7 separate regions of the Homo sapiens genome follow, and regions 1, 2, 3, 4, 5 and 6 are each linked to region 7. Evidence: promoter capture Hi-C in 16 types of primary human blood cells and fetal thymus (Javierre and others, 2016). All regions are on one chromosome and are shown on one strand. Each heading gives the region's core, a stretch centred on a gene start or on the middle of the fragment in contact. The rest is flanking DNA. Distances are from core to core; before and after follow the strand shown.

Region 1 (3,070 bases), core at 114-2,613, 620 kb after region 7:
CCTTGTCTCTAAAAAAAGTTAAAAAAAAATTTTAATTATGACTACAGAAAAGATAAAAAATAATGTTTATATAACACCACCTAATTACTAATCTCTTCAAATAATCATAGTATAAAATAATGCTCTAATAGCAATCTACAAGAGGTGCCTTTCTATAACTCTTCAGTGCATCATAATGCACTGAAGTATTTGAACAATTTGCCATATGAACAGGTGGGTAAGAATTGTGGAGAAGAACAATAGGGGGCCACTGGGAGGAAATATGTACCAGCATGGCGGGTCATGTAACTGGGAAAACCCAGTCAAGATATTTCAGGCCAAGGAAAGAAAATGTTCTCATGACCTAGAAGCAAAGGTAATTGTATGTGTATGTATTTAAAAAGTATGTATAAAAAACCTCACCTGAACCTTGATTTCTAAACATGCAAAAATCCTTTTCTCCTCTTCAAACTCCTTCTTAGAAATCTGGCAACCTGGCAGCACTGGGGGAAAAAACAGTAACATGAGACATCAGCATTTCTAGCGCGTCACAGACTTAATTAAAAAAGAAAAAGAAGAGCAAAACACCCTCTGGGGCCACTTCTGCCTTCATCCACACAAAACCAAACGGAATGAAAAGGGAGGCTAGAGTCTGTCTCTGTGTTGAGGGCAATTCTTGGGGACAGAGGTCTGCTTGCAATGGCTCTGAAACATGTAGCTCACCACCAAAGAGCTCCTAGAGGCCCCTCTTCTAGGAATCCCACCTCTAGAACTTCCCCATCAGGTCTTGACAAGATCCTGTCCCGCGGACACTTCCAGATCTAAAATTCTCATCCTTCTTGCTTGAAACGTTCATTATGGGGCTTAGCATAGACTTCTTTCTTGCGGTCATTTAATTGTGGCAGGCCCGAAGACAGGCTAAAGGGAACCTAGAGCATTTGGTCAAAGCAAATCACATTTACAAATACGGCCACGCACCCTGTCAGCCCGTCACACATTCACAACTGCACCCACCTCCGTGGGGACACGCCCCGTCCCTGCCACGCCGTCTGAGACACACTGTCCCTCGGCTGCTCGCGTGCACACAGGCTTGAGGATCCGGACACGACACGCTCTGTCCGTGACCCAGCCCTCCCCACCTCCAGCACCCCCGATGCCACCCCCACCCTCACTGCCGGTTCCAGTCGGGCCCCAGTAAAGCCAGCCGAGCCCTCCCAGCTTCACCCGGGCTGATTACTTCTACAGACACGACCAACTCACCATGCAGAGTCCAAGAACCTTAAGGACACCGGAAAAGGACCCAGAGACCTGTGGTTAGTTTGGACCCAGAGGCTGATGGGAAACAAGAGCCTGGAAATGCTCGCAGGCTGGGAGAGGAGCTTCTGGCAGGCAAGCTCGCCCCGCCCCTAAAAGGCCTGTGCCCCGGAGACTTCTGGGAAATGTAGTCCACAGCGGCAGAGTCTCCGGAAGTTGAAACCTGGACAGCAGGGATGCTCCCAGCATGCAACTTGGCTTCACCTGTCAAAGGCGCTTTTTTCGAAGACGCCCGGGAGCTCTTGCTTTTGCTTGAGGGTCTTTGGTGTTGACTGAGAGCGAATTAAAAGGTTCTCAGCTTTCGCTAAGGAACGCATTCTGGAGTCTAGAACAGGCGAAGATGGGACTGGGGTGTCTGGGGACTTAGACGTGAGCGAGCAAGGGAATCCGGGGTAAGTTCGCTGGAAATGACCTGCGCGACACTACCAGTTTACCTGGGTATGAGCGCCTGGAACAGTGTCTGGCAATTGAACAGATGGGTGTGTCTTGCTGTGAGGGAGTTTCTTAGTTCGATTCGGTGTCTGGGACCCTGCGTGGACCTGTTTATGTTCATGGGATGTTTTCTAAATTTATGCCTGTGTGAGTCTGTTTTATTAGGTGTGAGATGAACTGTGTTACAGATTTTATATGCCGCTGTTGAAAGACAACAATAAGTGGTAGTGAGTGGATATTGTGACCGTGGAGACTTATGGCAGTGCAAAGGCGGCCATAAACAATGCACAAGCAATCCAGCATGGCTGTGTTCCAATAAAACTTGATGGATTATAAAATTTGAATCTCATTTTTTATAGAGTATGAAACCATTTATTCTGAAGCACACACTCATACTCCAAAAACAATACTATATATTCCCTCTCTCTCTCTCCTGTGTGTTTGCGTGTGTGTGTGTGTGGGTGTGTGAGAGAGAGAAAGGTTTTAAAGGAGACAACTAACTGATTCTGAGGTTAGGGCAAAAAGATTGGGGCTGTGGTTGGTGTGGTAAGAACCTTTGGATATAAATACTTTTTTAAAAAAGAATTGTCTAAAAATATTAAAGCGAAATTTTATATTAAAACTAACAGAAAGAAAAGGAAGTTACTTTTTAGGGGCTCTTTCTGGTCACTGATATCACCTCTCTCATCCTCTGCCATCTCTCACCTCCTGGTCTCTCTTGCTTATCAAGAGAAGACTAGAGCTCTTGGATCCCAGCTTTTCCCCTGCCTCAGCTGAGGCCACTACCCTGGTTGACTCCCATGGTGACATGGATGCCTCATCCAGTATCGTGGGTCTGAGTCCTCATCTGCAGGGTCCTTGAGCTTTCCTCGGCACCCATCCCCGTTTCCCATCTGGGACTTCATTATCATCAGCATCTGCTCCACCTCCAAAACCACTGGTGGAAGCAGCCTCCTCTCTTCCCATGTTACTTGCTCAATGACTCCCACAAGTACTACTCTGAATATTTTGGGGGTCTGATTTTTTTTTAATTTTTTATTTCCATAGGTTTTTGGGAAACAGGTGGTGTTTGGTTACATGAGTAACTTCTTCAGTGGTGATTTGTGAGATTTTGGTGCACCCATCACCTGAACAGTGTACATGGCACCCAATTTTTAGTCTTTTATCCCTCACCCCCTTTCCACCCTTTCCCCCAAGTCCCCAAAGTCCACTGTGTCATTCTTAGGCCTTTGCATCCTCACACCTTAGCTCCCACTTATGAGTGAGAATATACGATGTTTGATTTTCCATTCCTGAGTTGCTTCACTTAGAATAATAGTCTCCAGGCCGGGCATGGTGGTTCACA
Region 2 (3,015 bases), core at 98-2,597, 600 kb after region 7:
TTTGAGCCACAAGTAAAGGTCTTCCCGAATTCCTTACGTTGATAAAGCTTCTCACCAGTATGAAATCTCTGATGAACACTAAGTTGATAGCCACTACCAAAGGCCTTCCCACAGTCTTTACATTCATAAGACTTCTCATTAGTATGGACTCTCTCATGCTTAACTAGGCTTGAACCCCAACTGAAGGCCTTCCCACATTCCTTACATTTGAAAGGTTTCTCACCGGTATGAATTTTCTGATGTTGAGTAAGGTGATAGCCACGACTAAAAGCCTTCCCACATTCTTTACATTCATAGGGTTTCTCCCCTGTATGGATTCTTTCATGTTGAACAAGGCTTGATCCACAATTAAAAGCCTTCCCACATTCCTTACATTCATAGGGTTTCTCACCAGTGTGAAATACCTGATGTCGAGTAAGTTGATACCCACTACAAAAGGTCTTTCCGCATTCTTTACATTCATGGGATTTCTCACCAGTATGAACTCTCTCATGTTTAACAAGGCTTGAACCCCAACTAAAGGCCTTCCCACATTCCTTACATTCAAAAGGTTTCTCACCAGTATGGATTTTCTGATGTTGAGAAAGGTGATAGCCACGACTAAAGGCCTTTCCACATTCTTTACATTCATAAGGTTTCTCACCAGTATGAATTCTTTCATGTTGAATAAGACTTGATCCGCAATTAAAAGCCTTCCCACATTCCTTGCATTCATAGGGTTTCTCACCAGTATGAAATATCTGATGTCGAGTAAGTTGATAGCCCCAACAAAAAGCCTTTCCACATATTTTACATTCATAAGGTTTCTTACCAGTATGGATTTTCTGATGCTGAGTAAGCTGATAGCCACGACTGAAGGCCTTCCCACATTCTTTACATTTATAAGGTTTCTCACCTGTATGAATTATCTCATGTTTAGCAAGGCTTGAGCCCCAAAAAAAGGCCTTCCCACATTCCTTACATTTATAAGATTTCACACCAGTATGAATTTTCTGATGTTGGGTAAGGTGATAGCCACGACTAAAGGCCTTCCCACATTCTTTACATTCATAGGGTTTCTCACCAGTGTGAATTCTCTCATGTTTAACAAGGCTTGATCCCCAGCTAAAGGTCTTCCCACATTCCTTACACTCATAGGGTTTCTCACCAGTATGAAATCTCTGATGCACATTGAGTTGATAGGCACTTAAATAATTCTTCCCACATTCTTTACATTCAAAGTGTTTTTCAGCTGTATGAGTTCTCTCATGTTGAACAAGTTTTGAGCCATGACTGCAAGCCTTCCCACATTCCTTACAAACATAGGATTTCTCTGTATTATGAATTCTTTGATGTGGAGTAAGAGATTTACTTTTTCTGTAAGAAGGTATTTTTTCATAGCTGATTATCATTTGACTGAAGTATCCCTCTTGATGTCCTTTTAGTCCCTCGAATATGCTTTTGCACTTCCAATTATTTCTGAAGATGGATGCCTCAAGGCCAAGGGTTTTACTTTTGTCCTTCATCTCCCACTGGGAAAAATTTATTTCAAAAATATCATTTTCTGAAAATATTTTTTTGGTCTCATACGTTTTTGACTCCAAATCTGAAAGAAAACAAGAAAACCACACATTTTATTTCCTTCACTAGGGAAAAAAAAAAAAAAACTACAGTAGAAATAAAAGACAAATTAGGAGACTTACTGAACTCACTCCTTGGCATTAAGGCACTCCCTTGTTAAATAACAAACTCAGCCTTGATTTTGCAGCTCTTGTGATCTGAATGTTCTGATTTTATAGTTTTCTGGAGGATTCCACAGAGGTCGCTTCAACAAGTCCCTCATTTTCCCACGCTGATGTTCCCTCAAACCAAATGTCAGCTTCCATCAATCAAGCCCTTATGTGCCCAGTTGTGGTCATCCAATGTATCTTAATGGGAATCAAATTCTTATCATAATGAGCTTTGGCTGATTTTGTTTTGTCTAACAACTCTTTTGTCTAACAACTCAATGGTCGCAACTCTGCCATTTTATCAAGGCAGCCATGGGCAATATGTAAACATATAAACAAATGGGCAAGACTATGTTCCAATACAACTTTATTTGCAAAAACAGGTGGATTTGGCCTCCAGAGCCAGAGTTTTCCAACCCCTGAGATAAAGCAAACATTGCTTTCATAAATGTTCACAATTGTAAAAATATAAAGTTCAATTAAATTTTACATTTACTTAGATTTATTAGCCAGAATTTTTATAAAAGGATTGATTTTTATAACTTCATATAATGCTGCAATTATGTGACTCTATAGATTTTACCTTATTTAAAAATTTTAAATGTCTATCAATTTTAAAAATCAACAGTAATTGTATTGCTATTTAAGGATCACTTTAAATTATAAGATCTCCAATTCACTTAGACAAAATGATCTTGAGAGTTACTAATAAATAATTTCTGGTTGCATAAAAAGTTCCTAAGAAGATATTCATAAAAGAGGAAGAACAAATATTTTGAGTTATTTTTCAATTAAGTTTACTTATTTCTTGACCATTGTTAAACATATTTTCACTCAACTAAGCTCAAACTACCCTGTCAAAAATCAATGTGATACACACATCATCTTATAACACATTAATACTGTTAATTATATTTTAAAATTGAAAATAAAGCTTTAAATTATAGTGTCATTCAGCATGGTATATTGACAATATTAGCAGGTTTAAATGCATATGGGAAATGCTATGTCATATAATGTATGAAAAAAGTGACATAAGTATGATATGATAGAAAAGACTGCTAGCTAAGGGAAAATGATGATCTTGGAGTAAACTGTCCACTCTATATGAGGAAATTAAAGTATTATTCTTTTTCTTCAATACATGAAGAAAATAAATCTGCATAATTTTGCCACACTTCTGTGTATGCTTCAAATTTTAAGAGTCAAATAATTTTCATGCTTTTAGCTACCTTATACTACACATCTAAACTATTTTTAAATAGAACAGAATTTTTTATTTAAATAAAAATTAAAATCTTGCTAC
Region 3 (2,959 bases), core at 63-2,562, 560 kb after region 7:
TTGGCTTTATTGATTTTTCTTTATTGTATATCTGGGGTTTTTTGTGTTATTGGTTACTTTTGGTATGTTATACTTTCTATAGGTTTAATTTGCTTTTCCTTTTCAAGCTTCTTGATGTATATCACTGATTTTCAACCTTTCTGTTTTGACAAAACATATATTTAAAGCTTATATCTTCATAAGCATTGGTTTACCTGCGTCTCACAAGCTTTGATATATCTTACTTTCACTATCATTTAACTCAAAATATTTTCTAGCTTCCATTGATTTATTATTTGACCAGTAACTATTTAGAAGTATGCCTTTTACACAGGCACATCTCATTTTATTGCATGTTGCTTTATTGCACTTTGCAAATATTGCAATTTTTACAAATTGAGATTTGTGGTAACCCTGCATTCAGCAAGTATATTGTCTCTGTTTTTCAACAGCATGTGCTCATTCTGTGTCTCTTTGTCACATTTTGTAATTCTAGCAATATTTAAAACTTTTCCATTATTTTTATGGTGATCTGTGATCAGGGTCCTTGGTGTTACTGTTGTAATTGCTTTGGGACACCGTGAGCCACACCCATATAAGACGGTGAACTGAATGAATATATGTTATGTGTCTTCTGACTGCTCCACCGACCAGCTATTCCTGTCTCTCTTCCTCTCTTTGTTTTCCTGAAACACAACAATATTGAAATCAGGCCAGTTAGTAGCCCTACAATAGCCTCTAAGTGTTCAAATGAAAGGAAGAGTCCTCTGTTTCTCACTTTTAATCAAAAGCTAGAAGTGATTAAGCTTAGTGAGGAAGGCATGTCAAAAGCCAAGACGGGCCAAAAGCTTGACCTCTTGTGCCAAACAGTTAGCCTAGTTGTGAATGCAAAGGAAAAGTTCTTGAAGGAAATGAAAAGTGCTTCTCGAGTCATATGGAGATACTGCAATACAGAGAAAGATTAGTGGTCCACATAGAAGATCAAGCCAGCCACAAAATTCCCTTAAGCCAAAGCCAGAGCAAAGACCTAACTGTCTTCAATTTTGTGAAGTCTGAGAGACATGAGGAAGCTACAGAAGAAAGGTTGGATGCTAGCAGAGGTTGGTTCATGAGGTTTAAGGAAAAAAGTCATCTCCATAACATAACAGTGCAAGGTGAAGCAGCAAATGCTGATATATACGCTGCAGCCAGTTGTCCAGAAGATCTAGCTAAGATTATTGATGAAGGTGGCTACATTAAACAAAAGATTTTCCATGTAGACAAAACAGTCTTCTGTTGGAAGAAGATACCATCTAGGACTTTCATAGCTAGAGAGAAGTCAATGCCTGGCTTCAAAGGACAGGCTGACTCTCTTATTAGAGGCTAATGCAGCTGGTGACTATAAGTTGAAGGTGATACTCATTCACTATTCTGAAAATTCTAGCGCCCTTAAGAATTGTGCTAAATCTACTCTGCCTGTGCTCTAGAAATGGGACAACAAAGCCTGAATGACAGCACATCTGTTTATGGCATGGCTTACTCAATATTTTAAACCCACTGTTGAGACCCAATGCTCAGAAAGGAAAAAAAAGACTCCTTTCAAAATATTACTGCCGATTGACGTTCCACCTGGTCATCCAGGAGCTCTGTTGGGGATGTATGGAAAAGATTAATTTTGCTTTCATGCCTACTAACACAACATCCACCCTGCAGCCCATGGATCAAGGAATAATTTCAACTTTCAAGTTTCATTTTTTAAGAAATACATTTCATAAAACTCTAGCTGCCATAGATTGTGATTTCTCTAATGGATCTAGGCAAAGTGAATTGAAAAGCTTCTGGAATGGATTTAACATTCTAGATGCCATTAAGAACACTCCTGATTCATAGAAGGAGGTCAAAATGTTTAACAGGAGTTTGGAAGAAGTTGATTCCAACCCTCACAGATAACTTTGAGGGGTTCAAGACTTGAGTAGAGGAAGTAACTGCAGATGTGGCAAAAATAGCAAGAGAACTAGAATTAGACATGGAGCCTGAAGATGTGGCTGAATTTCTGCAATCTCATGATAAAACTTTAATGGATGAGGAGCTGCTTCTTACAGATGAGCAATTAAAGTGGTTTCTTGAGATGGAATCTACTCCTGGTGAAAATGCTGTGAATGTTGTTGAAATAAAAACAAACAATTTTGAATAGTACACAAGCTTAGTTGATAAAGCAGCACCAGGGTTGGAAAAGATTGACCCCAATTTTGAAAAAAGATCCCCTGTGGGTAAAATGCTATCAAACAGCATCACATGCTACAGAGAAATCTCTTGTGAAAGGAAGAGTCAATTGATGTGGCAAACTTCATTATTGCCTTTTTTTTTTTGAGACAGAGTCTCGCTCTGTCACCCAGGCTGGAGTGCAGTGGAGCGATCTCGGCTCACTGCAACCTCTGCCTCCTGGGTTCAAGCGCTTCTTCTGCCTCAGCCTGCCGAGCGAGTAGCTGGGACTACAGGTGCGTACCACCATGCCCAGCTAATGTTTGTATTTGTAGTAGAGACAGAGTTTCACCATGTTGGCTAGAATTGTCTCGATCTCTTGACCTTGTGATCCACCCACCTCAGCTTCTCAAAATGCTGGGATTACAGGCATGAGCCACCGCACCTGGCCCATTATTGTCTTCTTTTAAGAAACTGTCATAGCCATCCCACCCTTCAGCAACCCTGATCAGTCAGCAGCCATCAACATCAAGGCAATACCTTCCACCAGCAAAAAGATTATGACTCTCTGAAGGCTCAGATGACCATTAGCATTTTTTAGCAATGAAGTATATTTAAATTAAGGTATGCACCGTATTTTTTAGGGATAATGCTATTACACACTGAATAATACAGTATAAACATATCTTTTCTATGCACTGGGAAACCAAAAAATTCATGTGATTCACTTTACTGCAATGTTCACTTTAGCATGGTGGTCTGGGGCCAAGCCTGCAATATCTCCACAGTATGTCTGTAT
Region 4 (2,945 bases), core at 128-2,627, 520 kb after region 7:
AGGTCGAGACCAGCCTGGCCAAAATAGTGAAACCTCATCTGTACTAAAAAAACAAAAGAAACAAAAAAAATTAGCCAGGAATGGTGGCGGGTGCCCATAATCCAGCTACTGGGGAGGCTGAGGCAGGATAATCTTTTGAACCCGGAAGGCTGAGGTTGCAGTAAGCTGAGATCATTCCACTGCACTCCAGCCTGGGCCACAGCGCAAGACTCCATTTCAGAAAAATAAATAAATAAGTATTTCTTCTAAGATTGGAAGGTTTTATGTTTCCCTTTTCAATAGTAAGGGTTCTTCTATCTGAAGTAAGAGAACTAAGAATAATTTACTAATAAATCAAGCAGTAATTAACTAATACTAAGCTTTTAATCTGGGTATTTTACTCGTTTCCACCCTCCATAGAATCAGAATCATACCCTGAGAGCTACAAGAACTCCATTTTTCACTGTGCAGAGGCTCTCTGCTGAAGGGTCAAGTGGAATCTGGAATCCAGCCCATGTTTCCCCATCATCAAGCCATGTGAAGCTGCAGACTCCGTGAGTGCCTTAGTCCATTTGTGCTGCTATAACAAACAATACCATAGGCTGGGTGGCTTAAACAACAAACCTTTATAACTCACAGTCCTGGAGACTGGGAAGTCCATGATCAAGTCACTGGCAAATCCAATGTCTAATGAGGCCACTCTTACTGGTTCGCAGAAGCTGTTGTCTTGTATCTTCCTGGGAGGAAGAGAGAAAGAGCTAGGTTACTTGCTTTTCTTACAAGGAAAGCAATCCCATTATGGAGGCTTCACCCTCATGACCTAATTACCTCCTAAAGGCCCCACCTCCCAATAACATCACATTAGGGCTTCAACATAAGAATTTTGAGGGGACACAGACATTGGTCCACAGCAGCAAGGGAGGGGCTCCCTGACTGTTTCATGTAAAGCATCTGCATGGGTTTATGTGTAACTTCTATTGATTGTTTAAGCTGCCAGAAACTGTTCCACATGTTTTGTGTATACTTAGTCACTTTCACTGACCTTCCTATGAAGTAGGTATTATTATTACATCCAGTTTATAGATTAGACATTAGAGCACAAAGTACTAGCAAGTTGGACATGCCTGTATTCCAGTACTGGTGGGCTGGTTCTGGAGTCTAGACTGTTCACAACTCTGTTCTCTACTCCCTCAAGCAGCTCCCTTGGCTTCAGAGTCCAATCTCCATTTCTGTGTCTGTCTTTTACCCCTAACTCTGGAGCCCTCATTTCTCCTTCCATGAGATCTTAGACTCCCATCTGCTTATTTTTGTCTTTAGAAGCAACAGAGAGACAAGATTTAGAATACTGGCTCTGGTATGAAAGCTGGATTCAGGTACTGTTCCTGCCTCTTGACCTCACCAAGCCTCAGCTTCCTCGCCTGTTAAATGGATACAATTGTCGTCATTATCATCTGTTGAGAACTCCCTAAAATGCCAGGTACTATGCCAAGGGCATTGCATAAATTCACTCATTGATTCCTCACAGTAATCCTATGATTAACATCCTGTTTTCATTTCCCTTCTTATAGCTGAGCATAGGCACAGAAGTTTAGGTGTTTGGACCAAGGTCACACAACTGATACAACAGTAGCTTCTTCACAGGTATGTGTGAAGTACCTTAATGAAACATCATGTGCCAAGTTCTTCATAAGGTCCCTAATATGTATTTAGTTAAATATCACCATTTTTGTTGTTATTATTGTGCTTCCTATAGCTTGTTAATTTCAGTGACATTATCTAATTTATAGTTGCATAAATCTTGCAGAGTCATGATTTTTTATTAAATTTTCTCTGTCTCTATGATAGTCTTTTTAAGGCCCTACTGTTAAAGTAAATTTTGCAAGGTCTTTTTTTTTTTTTTTAGATTTTTTTTTTTTCTCTTTAGAGATCACTCTGTTGGCCAGGTTGGTCTTGAACTCTTGGCCTCAAGCAGTCCTCCCACTTTGGCCTCCCAGAGTGCTAGGATTACAGGCATGAGCCACTCTACACAGCCAAATTTTGCAAGGTCTTATACCTTTTAGAAACCAGTCCATATAGTCAAATTCATAGAGATAACGTGGTTATCAGGGGCTGGGAGGGGGAATGGGGAATTATTACTTAATGGGTACATAAAAAATTCTGATGATGGATAGTGGTGATGGCTGCACAACAATGTAAATGTACTTACTGAATGTAACCACTTAAAAAATGGTTAAAATGGTAAATTTTATGTTACATATTTTACTATCAAAAAAAGCAGTCATCTATGTACAGTAGTCCCCCCTTATCCACAGCAGATACCTTCCAAGTCCCCCAGTGAATGACTTAAACCTCAGATATTACTGAACCCTAAATATACTATGTTTTTCCTTTACCTACATACTTATGATAAAGCTTAATTTATAAATTAGGCACAGTAAGAGACTAACAACAATAACTTATAATAAAATAGAATAATGATAAAATACTGTAACAAAAGTTCTATAAACATGGTCTCTCTCTCTCTCTCAGAATATCTTACTGCACTGTACTCACCTATTTTTGGGCCATAGTTGACTTCAGGTAACTGAAACCACAGAAAGCAAAACTATGGATAGGAAGGACCACTGTAATCTTAAATACTATTGCAAAAGCCTCAAATTAAGTATGGGAAACCAAGAGAGAATAACAGGTATTTCAGAGGTTAAAGGCGAGGTTAAAGTAGAGGTTAAAAAACCTCTACTAAAGAATTCATCAGCTGAGTGTGGTGGCTCACACCTGTAATCCCAGCACTTTGGGAGGCTGAGGCAGGAGGATCACTTGAGCTCAGGAGTTTGAGACTGGCTCGGGCAACATAGCATGACCTCGTCTCTACAAAAAGTAAAAAAATTAGCTGGACATTGTGGTGCACACCTGTGGTCCCAGCTACTTGGGAGGCTGAGGTGGGAGGATCGCTTGAGCCCAGGAGG
Region 5 (2,932 bases), core at 128-2,627, 540 kb after region 7:
TATAGCAGGCAATGTGGGAGCTTCAGTTAAGTGTGAGGTTTTATGTTAATCTGGCTAGGTGTTGGGCTGTGTTTAATGTTTGATTTAGCTGAAGGTGTCAGAGGTTTCAGTTTTACCTTTCTGTAGTGTCCCTTCTTTTTCCTTCCCTGTTGTCTTTGAATTTCCCTAAGAACTTTAAAAATAGAATCTGTGTCTTGCAGCCTTCTCACTTTTATTATCCTGTTGTTATACAAGAATCCTATTGATATGGTGGTAAAGTGTGGGGAGAGGGGAAGTGTTCTACAATCATATGATTTAATCTGTCTTTTAGTGGGCCTGAGTCCCTGGCCTGTGATCTTCAGACGCAGTTCTTAGTCTTTCTGTTTTCCCCTTAGGTAAGACAGGAAGGCGAGTTGACATATTGCCTTTCTCCCCAGTTATATAAGTATCTGATAAAGTCATTTCCCTTGGATAGCAGTCCTTTGTTATGTGGAACACTCTCAGTGTATTTCAAAATAGTTACTTTTGTCCTCCTCCAAAACATGAGATTTTTCTTGTAAATTCACCATGAGAACCTAGTAGCATTACTGGACGTAAATTCCATGAAAGTGTGAGGCTCCCCCTAAGACTGCGTCCCTGGAAGATTTTTGAAGCTAGCCTCCAATGAATTCTCTAAATTACCAATTAAGCGCTCCTACCAATAGCATTGCTAATTACTTGTTATCAACTAATTGGTAACACTTAGTTACCAACACTTAGTTACCAATTAGCTGGTAATACTTAATTACACTGCTAGTAAATATTACCAATTAGCTGGTAATACTTAATTAGCAGTGTTATTGGTAACACTTAGTTACCAATATTCTTTCCCCGCCTAAATGGTCTTACCTTGGTCCTTCTGCTCCAAGTAAGCTGATCTCCGTTTGCTTGTCTCTCCAGATTTAAGGCTGGTGGTTTGCCTTGTGACCTCTATTATCTGACAGATCCAGAAAAAATTAATTTCTTTAGTTTTTTTTGTTGTTGTTGTTGTTGTGAGGATGGGAGTGATCATCCCAGAAATCTGACTGACTTCCAGAAATTGGATTATCCATTTTTTTTTTATTGTTGAGTTCTAAGAGTTTTTGTATTCTAGATACAAGTCCATTGTCATATGTATGATGGGCAAATATTGTCTCCCATTCAGTGGGTATCTTGTCACTTTCTTGATGGTATCATTTGCAGTAAAAAGTTTGAATTTTGATATACTCCTATTTATTGTTTTGCTTATGCTTTTGGTGTATCCAAAATATCATTGCCTATTCCAAGCTCATGAAGATTTGCCCCTGTGTTGTCTTTGAAGAGTTTTATAGTGTTAGCTCCTATAGGATTTAGGTCAGTGATGTGAGTTAATTTTTGTGTATGGTATAAAGTAGAATTCCAACTTCATTCTTTCTTTGCAGACAGATATCCAGTTGTCTTACCATAATTTGTTGAGAAGACTATTCTTTCCCCTACTAAATGGCCGTAGCACCCTTATTGAAAATGAATCGACAGTGTCAAGACTTACTTCTGGACTTTTAAATCTATTCCACTCATCTCTATGTCTACCCTTGTGCCAGTACCACACTGTAGTTTTCCAGTAACTTTTGAAATTGGGAAATGCGAGTCCTCCAACTTTGTTCTTCCTTTCTAAAGTTGTTTTGGTTATTTTGGGTCCCTTGTGTCTCCATATGAATTTAGGATCAGCTGGTCAATTTCTAGAGGCAGTGGGGTTGGGAGGGGGGAGCCAGCTAGGATATTGTTAAGGACTGCATTGAATCCATAGGTCAATTTGGGAGGTATTGGCATCTTAACAATATTAACTTTTCTTATCCATGAACCACAGATGTCTTTCCTTTTATTTAGGTCGTCTTTAATTTCTTTCAATGATGTTTTATAATTTTCAGTGTACAAACTTTCCTCTTCATTTGTTAACTTTATTCCTTAAGTATTTTCTTCAAATTCTGTTGTAAATGGAATTGTTTTCCTACTTTCATTTTTTGATTATTCATTGCTAGTGTGTAAGAACACAATTTTTTTGCATATTGATCTTCCTGTAACTTTGCTGAACTCATTTACTAGTCTTATTAGTTTTTTGTGATTTCCTTAGGACTTTATGTATATAAAATCATATCTGCAAATATAGCTTTACTTCTTCATTGTACTTCTTCATTTCCATATGGATGTCTCTTATTTCATTTATTTGCCTAGTTGCCCTGGCTAGAACCTCCAGCATGTATCAAATAGAAGTGGTGAGAGTTGGCTGGGCGTGGTGGCTCATGCCTGTAATTCCAGCACTTTGAGAGACTGAGGCAGGGAGATCACTTGAGGTCAGGAGTTCAAGACCAGCCTGGGCAACATGGTGAAACCCCATCTCTACTAAAAATACAAAAATTAGACGGGCGTGGTGGTAGGTGCCTTTAATTCCAGCTACTAGGAGGCTGAGGCAGGGGAATCCCTTGAACACGGAAGGCGGAGGTTGCCGTGAGCTGAGATCGCGCCACTGTACTCCAGCCTGGGCAACAGGGCAAGACTCCTGTCTCAAAAAAAAAAAAAAAAAAAAAAAGTGGTGAGAGTGCACATCTTTGTCTTGTCCCTGATCTTAGAAAGTACTCTGTCTTTCACCATTAAGTATGATATTGGCTGTGGGTGTTTTATAGGTGGTATGTTGAAGAAGTTCCCTTCCATTTCTAATTTGTTGAATGTGTTTTTTATCATGAACAGGTGTGCACATTTCATGGATTTCTCTCTTTTTTTTGTTTCCTTCTGCCTACTTTGGGTTTCAGATGTTCTTTTTTTCTTGTTTCTTAAGGTAAAAGCTTAGGTCACTATATTAGTCTGTTCTCACACTGCTATAAAGAAATCCCTAAGACTGAGTAATTTATAAAGAAAAGAGGTTTAGTTGCTCACAGTGCTGCAGGCTGTACAGGAAACA
Region 6 (2,762 bases), core at 90-2,589, 580 kb after region 7:
ATTTTTTGTAGTTTTAGTAGAGACGGGGTTTCACCGTGTTAGCCAGGATGGGCTTGATCTGCTGACCTCATGATCGCCCCCCTCAGCCTCCCAAAATGCTGGGATTACAGGCGTCAGCCACCAAGCCTGACCTCTATTTCTTTTAACAGTTCCATGAAGTAGTCGTGATTCATAATATTTACATGTATATACTTCATAGGTATATTCTTTATACAGTAGAGCAAAGCAGTTAGGGAGACATCAGTCTCTTGCATTAAAATTCCAAGGAATTCAGATTTTTAACCTAATACAGCTGGTGTATCATCTATTGTGATAGAAATATTTTTTGATACCTAACAGAAATTTTTCTTTGACAGATATAAAAGACAAAAATATCTATGTCATGACTCTGGTTTTGTAGGCTGCGAATTGACAGCTTTTTTTATTTGGGGATCTTTTGAGACAAAATGTACCCACAGTATCAATTGGGCTAAATTATCTTATATTGCACAACTCATATATGGCTAAAGAAGAGTACTTGAAGCTTTTGCTAACTTTGAATTAATTGATCCATGATATTGTTAGAAATATCTTGTATTCTATGAGCAGTTTTTAGGTGACTTAATTTTTTTTTACTTTTTATAAGATCATTTTAGTCTTTCTCAGAATATGCTAACAAGATTTTTGCAACCAAACTAATAATTTATCTTATCTCTATATCCAACATTTCTTTTTTGTGCAAGAATCAGAGCCATTTTATAGCTCAAAAAGGTTATAAACTCAGATTCTGTTTAAAAATTGTTTAAATATTTTGGTTGGACATTTAATTCTAATTTCAGGCAACTAACTTCATCTATTCCATTTTGCTTCTCAAGAGAAAACGTCTCATCAAATTTACTATGTATTTGCTGAAAATGTTTCACAATATTTTTCTCTTTAACAATTTAATTTGTTATGTAATAAACAGCTTTTTTTTTTTGCTCTCTCACAGCAAATTGCAATTGACATTCATCATGAAATTCATAGTATATTATCTTCCAGGCTCATTTTTTACAATTCTGACCATAGTACTGGTCTCCACTCAATTCTGTGTAATATGCCTTCATTTATTTTAAATTTTAAATTTTGTCCATACTTACTTTTCAACCTAGAATAATAATTTAATTATAAAGTACTAAGTATTTCCATTTAATTACTAATAATTATTTCCTTAGTATCACTGTAACTCTTCTTCTTTTTGAAGTATTCAAATAAATACATCAAGGCAGGGCACAATGGCTCACACCTGTAATCTCAGCATTTGGAAGGCTGAGGCAGGCGGATCACTTGAGGCCAGGAGTTCTTGGCCCGGCCAACATGGCAAAACCCCGACGTTACTAGAAATACAAAAATTAGCCTGGTGCAGTGATGCATGCCTGTAATCCCAGCTCCTCAGGAGGCCGAAGCACAAGAATTGCTTGAACTTGGGAGGCGGAGGTTGCAGTGAGCCGAAATGGTGCCACTGCCCTCCAACCTGGGCAACAGAGTGAGCTCTTGTCAAAAACAAAAAATAAAACAAAAAAAAAAACCCAGAGCTAATACTTTCCATGAATGTTTCCACGTAAGGACTCATCCCCAACTCATCAAAAATTCAGAGTATCTGCAACAGGAAGACACTTACAGAACATTTCCATCATTCCTAAAAGTTCTCTCTTGCTTCTTATCTTTCATTCTCCTAAGGCTACTGTTGTTCTGATTTCTATTACAATTAATGTGTTTTACCTTATCTTGATCTTCATGTAAATGGAATCATACATTATGAATACTACTATTCCTTAATTCTTTCATTCAATAGAAAAATTTGAGATTCTGCTATGTTATTCCTTAGATTAGTAGTTTATAGCTTTTTACTATTTAGTAATATTCAAGGTATGAATATACCATAGTTTATTCATCTGTTCTTCTATTGATGGATTTTTGAATAGTTTGCAGGAATTTTTTTATTATAAAATCTCTCCAAATAGATTTTTTAAGATAAAAAATTATTTCCCTCATTGATTTGCATAGGTGACTCTTATAAATCAATTGGTTGTATATATTTGGAATTATTTCTGGAGCCTGTCTTCTGTTACACTGATATATTTAACTTTCCTTATACAAATACTACACTCTATGAAATAGCTTTATATTAAGCTTTGAAACAAGGTAAGCTAAATATCCCAAAGTTTTGAAGATGGCCGAATAGGAACAGCTCCGGTCTACCGCTCCCAGCGTGAGCGTCGCAGAAGACGGTGATTTCTGCATTTCCATCTGAGGTACCGGGTTCATCCCACTAGGGAGTGCCAGACAGTGGGCGCAGGTCAGTGGGTGCGCGCACCGTGCGGGAGCAGAAGCAGGGCGAGGCAATGCCTCACTTGGGAAGTGCAAGGGGTCAGGGAGTTCCCTTTCCAAGTCAAAGAACGGAGTGACGGATGGCACCTGGAAAATCGGGTCACTCCCACCCGAATACTGCGCTTTTCCGGCGGGCTTAAAAAAACGGCGCACCACGAGATTATATCCCGCACCTGGCTCGGAGGGTCCTACACCCACGGAGTCTCGCTGATTGCTAGCACAGCAGTCTGAGATCAAACTGCAAGGCGGCAGCGAGGCTGGGGGAGGGGCGCCTGCCATTGCCCAGGCTTGATTAGGTAAACAAAGCAGCCGGGAAGTTCGAACTGGGTGGAGCCCACCACAGCTCAAGGAGGCCTGCCTGCATCTGTAGGCTCCACCTCTGGGGGCAGGGCACAGACAAACAAAAAGATAGC
Region 7 (3,122 bases), core at 15-2,514:
CAAGGAGGGAGAGATAAGGAAATGAGTTATCACTGTAACTGAAACCTTTCATCATGGCACAGAAAAAGCAATCTCTATCTTCAGAACACACTTGTATCCCAGAAAATATTTCATTATATATATAGTAATGTAGTAAGTGATTAGGATGCCGTTTAAATCAGAAAGGAAAGAATTAATATTTATGTAAATTTTGTTAAGAAAAGTAGACAATCCTTTGGTGAAACAGGAAACTCCATCTTCCTTTCATATCATACACTTAAATGAATCACGCGGTGATTCAAAAGAAAAATGAAAGAGCCTGAAATGAATATAGATATGCACTTATTGGGAATCAGGCTAAGGAATGTCTTTTTGGTCATACTGGAGAAAAAAAAGAAGCCACAAATGAAAAGACTGATATACCTTGTCAGATGAAGTTTTTTGTTTTTTTTTTTTTCTAAACTACTTTATAAATGTTGAAACTGGGGGAGCAATTCATCACTTAGAAGCGATATCATTCATACACAGAGAGTGTATGACAATAAAAGATGACAATGAAATGCAATCGGTAATAAGCATATTTACTCTGTCAAATTGGGAAAATAAGACAGGATATTTAGTCCATCAAATTGGGAAAATATTAAAGAAAGTGATTGTGTGTAGTTTTGATATCATAAAATTAGAAGTGTAAGTTCAATGCAGGACAAAGGGGTAACTTCCCTAAAAACTAAAGAATGCTAGGCAAGTATTGCAAATAATTTGTGTTTTTTTATTATCTCTATGTATCTCTACGTCTTTTGTGACATACAGAACTATCCACGATATATGACCTGTGGCAAGAAATGATTACAAAATATTATGATGCCATTTGGGAAATGGGATTCTTAAGAATTCATATTTACTCACATAAACCAGGGATTAAGTAAGAATTTTTTTTAAACCATTCTTTACATGTAATATGAACTACTTTTGAAATAAATATTTAGTTGGCTTTTACACCAGAAAATCAATAATGCTTTATATCCCTGGTGATGGGATGATGGGCTTGTTTGAGAATATAGTCAGGTTTGCTACAACGCGAATATGTTAGTACTGAGTAAAGACATTCTTTTCAACTCAGAAACACCTTGCATGCCGCCTCCCGCCGCCTCGCAGTGGGCGTGACTCGAGGTGGACGCGCATTTACGACACCATCGCCCCTAGGATCGGACTGCGCTGCGGAGGGTTCTGGGAAAGGTAGTCCCACACCTCGAGTCGACTACTTCCGTTTCCGGTGGGCGCGTCACCTTGATTGCTTCTTAGGCAGTGGTGAGGCGTCTTAGAGACGTGCATCTCCATGCGGTTGTACTGTCAGGCCATGGGAATTAGGATCGGCTCTATAGGACCAGTGTGAAGGGACAACGTGCGGCGGAGGGTCGAAGCCCACGGATTTCCATGAGCTCGGCCTGGTGAGGCAGGGGTGTAAGGAGGCGCACGTATCGAACATTCTGAGCGCCTGTGCGGGGTGGGCCCGGGTCGGCAGCCCTCGCAGTCCAGGCTTGGAAAAGCAGTTTGAGGCCAGCTCTGGCTTTGAGATGAGATCTGCAGTGCGGGAGACTCCACTGTGTCAGTTGCGGATCGATGACATGAATTTTCTCAGGGTAGCCGCCCACCCACTTGTGGAGTAATTTCAGAGTTTTCTGCGAAGTCATTTCTGTAAACAGGAAGTTGATTCCCTGTGTTCTAATTTTATCCTTTGAAATGTATTAAGCGCTGTGCAAGTCCTAGGAGTTGGTTTGCTGTATCGTTGCTGGCTCTGCTTTTTGTAGCCGCCTAAGCACACACAGGCAGAATTTCACTTGTAAGTGTCCCACAGCATGTGACAGTCAGCTCTGGATTAAAATCTTGAGATTTTGTCTTGATTCTCCTTGTCTCCTGAAAGGGGCAGTGAAAGTAGGCTTGTAGACGGTTTCTTTGGGCATCAGGAATGGCGTGTCCCTTGTACTCTGAGTCCTGTAGGAAGAGAGGTTCTTTTCCTCGGCTCCTGAAGCAAGTAGCGAGGGTAGATTACAGGAAGGGGTAGATTACATCCAGCTGGCACTGAGAGATTTCCCCCTGTGGCGTGGTGGGAATTGGGATTAAATCATGTTATCCTGCTGTTCATTTTTCTTTCACAGGCTTCCTTCTTGGAATTGTTCGTTTCTCGGAGATAATTGTATAAAAGAAGGAGAAATAACCCCACATCTCTTGACACTAGAGCTCCAGGTGAGTGAACTTTGGTTCTCTTTTGTGGCAATGCCAGGTCTCTTGGTGACCTCATTCTTCATCCCATTGATATCACAAATGTTCATTCAGACCCCTTAGCCACACCTGCCTTCCCCTAGAAATGGGGGAGGTTTGAGGAATTTCCCAGTGTCTTTATTTAGTGTATTCTCTTCTTGGCTCCTAGTAGTGTGTCACTGGGTCAGTAAAGGCTTACACTGTTTCAGCGCCATGCTGAAGAAACGCAGGGTAGAAATAATTAGAGTAACTGTGATGGTGTATATTAACTGAGTGCTTACTATATGCCAGGTATTATTTATCCATGGTGTCTAGGACAGTGCCAGGCTTGCCAATAAATATTTGAATAAATGAATGTATTTCTATTGAATTTTCTGAGCAAGTTTGTATGTTAGCTATTATCCCCATGTCACAGATGAGTTGCTAAGGTTTAAAAAGTTAAAAAAACTTAACAGGTAAGACCTGGCCAGGAGACCTTCTAAACAGAAACCAGGTCTTTGCGCTTATGCTTCCTTCTGGACTTGTCTCATCCCAGCTTTTTTCACAGCTGATTTATTTGTCAGGCAGCTCTTAGAGACTGTCCCTGACCACCTGATTTAATGTTGCTCTTTCCACAGCTGCCACATATGTTCACCTGATAGCACCTACATTCTTGTTGGAAAACAGGAATCTATCATGTTTGCTTTATTTTCTTCATAGCCCTTTTTGCAACCAAAGGTCACCTAATTTGTAGAGAGATTAACCCACCCGAAAGTAAGCACCATGAGAACAATTACCTTTTCCATCTTAATTTACTGCTGTATGTCTAGTGTTTATTCTCCTAAGATGTTGTTAGACACTGAATGTACATTTACTAAATGCATGAGTTCCTGTATTCCTAGGTT

The links. The method cuts DNA at HindIII sites, captures the fragments that hold promoters and counts their contacts. A CHiCAGO score of 5 or more calls a contact.
Region 1: a contact is called between the fragment with the promoter of ZNF283 here and the fragment with the promoter of ZNF229 in region 7, in 9 of 17 cell types (erythroblasts, M2 macrophages, naive CD8 T cells and 6 more). The highest score is 16.4, in erythroblasts.
Region 2: a fragment that was not itself captured here is called in contact with the fragment with the promoter of ZNF229 in region 7 in 6 of 17 cell types (M2 macrophages, erythroblasts, M0 macrophages and 3 more); the score reaches 10.9 in M2 macrophages.
Region 3: a fragment that was not itself captured here is called in contact with the fragment with the promoter of ZNF229 in region 7 in 11 of 17 cell types (total CD8 T cells, M0 macrophages, M1 macrophages and 8 more); the score reaches 8.3 in total CD8 T cells.
Region 4: a contact is called between a fragment that was not itself captured here and the fragment with the promoter of ZNF229 in region 7, in 8 of 17 cell types (M2 macrophages, naive B cells, megakaryocytes and 5 more). The highest score is 8.8, in M2 macrophages.
Region 5: a fragment that was not itself captured here is called in contact with the fragment with the promoter of ZNF229 in region 7 in 4 of 17 cell types (M0 macrophages, M2 macrophages, total B cells and 1 more); the score reaches 8.5 in M0 macrophages.
Region 6: a contact is called between a fragment that was not itself captured here and the fragment with the promoter of ZNF229 in region 7, in 7 of 17 cell types (M0 macrophages, M2 macrophages, M1 macrophages and 4 more). The highest score is 9.9, in M0 macrophages.

What each region holds. Positions count from the first base shown.
Region 1 is chr19:43,825,614-43,828,683 of GRCh38, reverse strand. ZNF283 (zinc finger protein 283) reads right to left here and starts at 1,363. Exons shown (of 7, transcript NM_181845.2): 1 at 1,240-1,363; 2 at 403-482. RefSeq lists an enhancer at 1,306-1,505. The HindIII fragment of the contact is 6,325 bases long and covers 1-3,070 here.
Region 2 is chr19:43,845,509-43,848,523 of GRCh38, reverse strand. It overlaps ZNF283 (zinc finger protein 283), which reads right to left. Exons shown (of 7, transcript NM_181845.2): 7 at 1-1,585. Among named protein-coding and RNA genes, the nearest start is that of ZNF283, 20 kb to the right of the region's middle. The HindIII fragment of the contact is 2,596 bases long and covers 50-2,645 here.
Region 3 is chr19:43,887,889-43,890,847 of GRCh38, reverse strand. No RefSeq gene overlaps it. Among named protein-coding and RNA genes, the nearest start is that of ZNF404, 5.4 kb to the right of the region's middle. The HindIII fragment of the contact is 966 bases long and covers 830-1,795 here.
Region 4 is chr19:43,922,913-43,925,857 of GRCh38, reverse strand. It overlaps ZNF45 (zinc finger protein 45), which reads left to right. Exons shown (of 10, transcript NM_003425.4): 4 at 400-533; 5 at 1,297-1,456; 6 at 1,548-1,620. It overlaps ZNF45-AS1 (ZNF45 antisense RNA 1), which reads right to left. Exons shown (of 3, transcript NR_184050.1): 2 at 604-716. Among named protein-coding and RNA genes, the nearest start is that of ZNF45, 11 kb to the left of the region's middle. The HindIII fragment of the contact is 2,032 bases long and covers 362-2,393 here.
Region 5 is chr19:43,905,796-43,908,727 of GRCh38, reverse strand. All of the region lies in intron 1 of ZNF45-AS1 (ZNF45 antisense RNA 1), which reads right to left. Among named protein-coding and RNA genes, the nearest start is that of ZNF45-AS1, 5.4 kb to the right of the region's middle. The HindIII fragment of the contact is 2,882 bases long and covers 1-2,818 here.
Region 6 is chr19:43,866,727-43,869,488 of GRCh38, reverse strand. No RefSeq gene overlaps it. Among named protein-coding and RNA genes, the nearest start is that of ZNF404, 16 kb to the left of the region's middle. The HindIII fragment of the contact is 1,628 bases long and covers 526-2,153 here.
Region 7 is chr19:44,446,614-44,449,735 of GRCh38, reverse strand. It overlaps ZNF229 (zinc finger protein 229), which reads left to right and starts at 1,264. Exons shown (of 6, transcript NM_014518.4): 1 at 1,264-1,427; 2 at 2,136-2,223. The HindIII fragment of the contact is 11,359 bases long and covers 1-3,122 here.